2 separate regions of the Homo sapiens genome follow, and region 1 is linked to region 2. Evidence: promoter capture Hi-C in human tissues and cell types (Jung and others, 2019). All regions are on one chromosome and are shown on one strand. The core of a region is centred on a gene start or on the middle of the fragment in contact, and the rest is flanking DNA. Distances in the headings are between cores, read along the strand shown. Region 1 overlaps PRRX1 (paired related homeobox 1). Region 2 holds the start of PRRX1 (paired related homeobox 1).

Region 1 (2,766 bases), core at 46-2,545, 75 kb after region 2:
AAAGTGTACAATGTTAATGGAATGATACGGTACCTGAAAGCCTTGTTTTCTAGTAAGAAAATGCTACCTTGCTGTACATACTTATAACCTTGTATTTGGAAATGAGAAATAGGTTTATATTTTCAGATCTCTCAAAAATCACATCATTTGACCAAAGAATAATTTAAGACACATAGAACAGATTTTTTTAATTTATATTTTCATCCTGACCAGCTTAGTTCTAATAATTTTTAGTTGTGAGTGATTAAAAAACTTTGGATCAATTTTGGTCAAACATGCCAACTTTGTAGTCTGAGTGACAGGCAAGGATTTTTGGGTTTAAGATGCACTTTTAGCACACATTTGTATTTCCCTTGGCATATCAGATTGAGCTAATGGTGATGTTATTTCAATCTAACAGCCACCAATCTGAAATTGTATTTCAAATGTTGATTCTGTAGTTCTTTAAATAATAATGAAGCTCATCTTATACATTTTGCTTTCACCAATTGATTCCTTCTTCTTTTAGCCCACTATTAAAACATTTCTTACTGAATGGTTCATGTAGGCTTGCTGAACAGCACGCATTACTTGCTTCCTGAAGAGTTCCCCCATTCATCCATTTGTCCCATTAGTTGCTGTGGATTATCAAGTTTTGAAGGAACTGTACATCCCAACAGACTGAAACATTCTAAGTGAAATGAGTATAATCCAAGTAACTGGTGAACTTTGGAGGTTTGGAGCTTGAAGAGAATGGCTAAGAAGATTTGAATTATAGGGAGGGAACAGAAATCATACATGAAAAGGTTTTACTGAGAAGGGGAAAACCTTAGATAGAGGGACATGTGAAACAAAATCATTTGAAATTTTGATTCAGACATCCATTTCCAGTGGCAAACAGCAAAGCCTGAACCCATAAACCCAAATGATAGGTGAAGTTGGGTGGTTTTATCCAATGTCTCAAGCAAGCAATGTCTGGGAATATCATAGAGTAACAAGTGCTGGTCAGCCAAAGAAACATTCACTGCTGGTGAACCAATACCATAAGCATGTATTATCTAAGCACTTGATCAAGAAATATACATGTTGTACAAGCTCTCAATTTTGTTCATTTATTATCAAATTTTTAAAATACAAGTTTGGTATGTGATTTGGAAAAGATGCCTTCTGGATCTTAAGCCAGTTGTCAGTGGAGGTCCTCAGGGCTGCAAATGTCAAGACATAACCCTGTTCCTCACCATCATGATACCAGATACAGGTGAATACATAGGAACTATCTGCCTGTGTCCTCAATCTCCCTTCAAACAAGATGCTGATTTGTAGGGTACTTGGCAGGTTAAATTAAACCAGAAGAGGTGACTTAATAAAAAAGGGAATGACATTTAGGGTATAAAGATCTCATAAGAAATGTAATATGTAAATTATATCTTGCTTTATGTTGTAAAATATACATTGTTTGCGCTAGAATAGAAATGATTTCTTTTCAATAAAAAGAAAGAAGGACTCTACCATGTCTTTTGTTATATACATTTAAGCCTGCTGATTCTTTTCTCTTTGAACTTCAAAAACACAGATCTGCTAGAATCTGAGATTACATGCAGAACAGTGAAGGTAAGAAGGGCTTATAGACAAGATAACTTTATCTGAGTGTGATATTATTTTCCATAAAACAGGAAAATAATCTATTTTTCCTCAGAAACAAAGACAATGGTAGGAAGAAGAGGGGACACTTACTATTATAATAGATGAGAATAGAGTGGAACTTTTATGAGAGTTTAGCATTTTCAAAATCAATATCTTTAACATTCACAATACTGGACACCATATGGAAAAGACTTCATATAAGCATGGCTGTTTCTTCTGGAGTAAAGAAATAGAAAAATAAAATTTCTTAAGCATCCATTGTGCATAGCATGGGTGTGTGGTCATGGGGAGGACAGAAAAACTAAATTGTGAGACACAGATGCTGTTTTCATATCAATTAAAATCTGGTTTAAAAAGCAACCCTAGCATGCAAAAATAAGCAACAGTTCAAGATAATATATTAATAAGTATCAAACAGAACAGATAAAAGGAGTTCAGAAGAGGAAGAGAGAGAACATGCTGTTAGTTGAAGTGGGAGACCAGTTTTACAGAGGAACTGGGACTTGAATTTTATCAGCAAGGATCCGGACAGGTGAAGAACAGGTGATGGCTTTTCAAGTGAGGGCATGGAGAAGAAGGGGTGAAGGCAGGGATATAGGAATGAGGAATTTGTATTCAAAGATGTATGGCAAAATGGGCCTGGATGAGATGGAGAGTTAATTTTAAAGTTGAATGGAAGATACTAGAGATGCAAGTTGAGGCTTAATCTTGCAGGGTACCACATGTCAAAGATGTTTGGACTTTTCCTCAGGCCACAGAGATCTATTGAAGGCTTTTGAGCAGAAAAAAAAGCCATGTGAAAAAATGCTACTTTAGGCCAGGCGCGGTGGCTCACGCCTGTAATCCCAGCACTTTGGGAGGCCGAGGCGGGCGAATCACAACGTCAGGAGATCAAGACCATCCTGACTAACACAGTGAAACCCCATCTCTACTAAAAATACAAAAAATTAGCCGGGCGTGGTGGCGGGTGCCTGTAGTCCCAGCTACTTGGGAGGCTGAGGCAGAAGAATGGCGTGAACCCGGGAGGCGGAGCTTGCAGTGAGCCGAGATTGCGCCACCGAACTCGAGCCTGGGCGACAGAGCAAGACTCTGTCTCAAAAAAAAAAAAAAAAAAAAAAAAATGCTACTTTAGCAGGATTATTC
Region 2 (2,895 bases), core at 90-2,589:
GATGGTGGTGGATTTTTTCCAAATTTCCCCACAGCTGTTATCAAAACATGCAAATGAGATTTTCCAACAGGATCTTAAACAAATCTGGAGGAGTTAATGCCGAAGCAAAATAATCAGCACGTTTGAAGTGACTGTGAGTTTCAGTTTGTCTTTTCTCCCCGTGATATTATTGCAGGGGAATGATAATTAGACCTTTAGAAATCCAAAGGGGCTCTCTTGCTCTCTTCCCTCTCTCATTTCTCTTCTCTCTTTCTCTCTCTCTCTCTCTCCCTTCCTCCCTCCCTCCCTCCCTCTCTCCCTCCCTCTCTCTTGTTCCCTCCCTCTCCCTTTCTCTCTAACTCTGATGTTGGCAAAGGGGGTTTTCTTAATCAGACTGTTTTTTGGTCCCAGGGAAAGGAGGAAGAAGGAGATTGTGATGGAGAAAGGGGGTCTGTGAAACGTCAGGCACAGCACAAAGGCTTTGCCACGTAATTACAGGCTCCTATTAAGTCGAGATCTGCCCTCCCAGGGGTCTCCAATTTTCTTGTATTCCCTACAAAGCCTCCTCTGCATGCCAGTTTGTGCCTTTTGAAGTGCCAGAGAGCTTCTTGATCCAACTGAGAAGGAAAAAGGAGCCCAGCAAGAAGAGGGGGAGAGAGAGAAGGGGAAAGGGGGGAACCCACCAGCACCCTCCGTCGGACTCTTGAAGCCTTTTTTTTTTAATTCTTAATTTTTTTTTTTACTCTTTACAAAAAGTAAAGTGAGAATCCTGCTCTCTAATACATCTGCAAGACATCACCCTCTCCTCCTGAAACTTTAGTCACTCCTGAGAATCCACAGGAGTGCAGAGAGGGGGGAACACGTTTTCTTGAAGATGTTTTAAAGCTGGAACAAGCCTTCTTCTGTTGGTGCTTGAACTCTTGCCTGGGAATAACTTTTTTAACCTTTAAAAAAACCATTCACTTTGATTCTTCTCTCCCACCCCTTCTTCTCTCTTCTTCTGTTTGCCTAACTCCCCCGCCCTGCTGGCCTCCGCTTTCCTCTCTCCCCCTTGTTATTATTTTTAGTCTGTGCGTGTGGACACTTTTGGAGAGTTGGAAGGGATTTTTTTCTCCTGACTTGAACATAGGGTGACTTTTTAATATTGTATTTTACTGTGGATTATCTCTTTGGACCGCGCCGGACTTGGCCTCAGGAAATCAACCAATGCTGCGGAAGGCGGCTGGTGCACAACGCTCTGCTCTACAGAAGGGGGTCCCCCACCCTCTTTTCCAATTTTTTTTTTTTGGCCTTCCTCTCCTTCCCTCCCTCTTCCTCCCTCTCTCTCTCTCTCTCTCCACTACCCCCCTCTTTCTTCCCCACTCGGCTCCTCTCCCCCCTCGCGCCCACAGCGTTTGGTGTTGATTCGAGCGGGAAGAGGGGGGTGGGTGGGATCGGTGGGGGAGACCATGACCTCCAGCTACGGGCACGTTCTGGAGCGGCAACCGGCGCTGGGCGGCCGCTTGGACAGCCCGGGCAACCTCGACACCCTGCAGGCGAAAAAGAACTTCTCCGTCAGTCACCTGCTAGACCTGGAGGAAGCCGGGGACATGGTGGCGGCACAGGCGGATGAGAACGTGGGCGAGGCTGGCCGGAGCCTGCTGGAGTCGCCGGGACTCACCAGCGGCAGCGACACCCCGCAGCAGGACAGTGAGTGAGGGGCGCATGCCCACGGGGGTGTGTGCCCGGGACAGAGGGCGGGGACCCGTGTAGGGCAGCTAGAGCCCGTCCGCGGCCAGAAAGACAAGGTCCTGGGACCAGGAGAGGTGATGGCAGACTTCAAAGGAAGGGCCAGTCACAGGGGAAACCAGATGAGAAAAGCGGGTCTCGGCCGAGGGCATAGCCAAGGAGGACGCTGGAGAGAGGCTCCAAGGTCCGGGGACACTCCGAGGCCCTGCGGTCTCAGGCAGGGACTCTGTCCGCGGCGGACTCTCTTTACTTCGGCTAGGCACCGGCTCGGTTCATCCCGCACGCGGGGCGGCGGGGCTGGGCTGGGAAAAGGTCTTAGCGGGGTGCAAACTCAGAGAGCCAGCGCTGTTTGGGAAAGCAGCAGGTTAAAGATGCTGAGTCGGGTTGGAAGGGCTTCTCTCGGGCAGCGTATGACGGCTTGAGGGAGGGCACCAGGCACAGGGAGCAGGACTTGGCGCTGCTCAGGCTGCACTCTCCACGCGGGCACCGTAAGGCCGGGCGCGACCGGGAGGCCCCGAGAGAACGCCCGGCCCCAGACGCTGGAGCTGCTCTCTGCCCCCTGCTGTTGCCTCTACCGCAAATGGGTTTGAGACTGGCAGAGTCAAAAGCCCGGCTGGCTTGGGAAAACTCGGGCCAAGCAAAGGGAATGTCCTTTAAGGGTGAAACCTGAAATCCAGCCCCGCATGATCCCGCACAGGCGAGCTGCATCCGGGAGGCGCGAGCTTCAGTGCGGAGGCCAGTGTCACCTTAGAGGAGCTCTCCCTATTGGCTCTTAAACGCCCAGAAAAGTCCAGTTTCCCTTCCCCATCCTCACCGACCAACCTCGCGACCCATGAAAATCTCGCTTCGCTAGTGCCTTAAAAAGAGACTGCAATTGTATCCCCATGCCCCCAAGTCTGTAACAGACCGGTCACCCTGTTCATCCCAGGTGACATGTGGCCAGATATGTACAGATACTCCCTCTTCTCCTCGAGGTTGCAAGAGTCTGAACTTAGCTGTAAGTTCTCAAATGAGGCTGGTTGCTTTCTATGTCAGTAGTTGCTGGTTACCATTTTTGTCTTCAAATTTGGAAATCGTGGAACCGGGGGGCCCTCCAGCATTCTATGATTTTCACAAAACGTTGCCTATTTCAGACTCTCAAAGAATAGACATACAAATCAAACTGCACATAGAAACAATTGGAAACAG

What was found. Contacts are between HindIII fragments. The study calls those that stand out against the background at their distance.
Region 1: a fragment that was not itself captured here is called in contact with the fragment with the promoter of PRRX1 in region 2 in 3 of the 25 tissues and cell types used here (adrenal gland, hippocampus and psoas muscle).

What each region holds. Positions count from the first base shown.
Region 1 is chr1:170,737,914-170,740,679 of GRCh38, forward strand. PRRX1 (paired related homeobox 1) reads left to right here. Exons shown (of 4, transcript NM_022716.4): 4 at 1-1,508. Among named protein-coding and RNA genes, the nearest start is that of PRRX1, 75 kb to the left of the region's middle. The HindIII fragment of the contact is 4,339 bases long and covers 1-2,766 here.
Region 2 is chr1:170,662,792-170,665,686 of GRCh38, forward strand. It overlaps PRRX1 (paired related homeobox 1), which reads left to right and starts at 1,340. Exons shown (of 4, transcript NM_022716.4): 1 at 1,340-1,668. The coding sequence starts at 1,428. RefSeq lists enhancers at 245-772, 1,973-2,833. The HindIII fragment of the contact is 17,405 bases long and covers 1-2,895 here.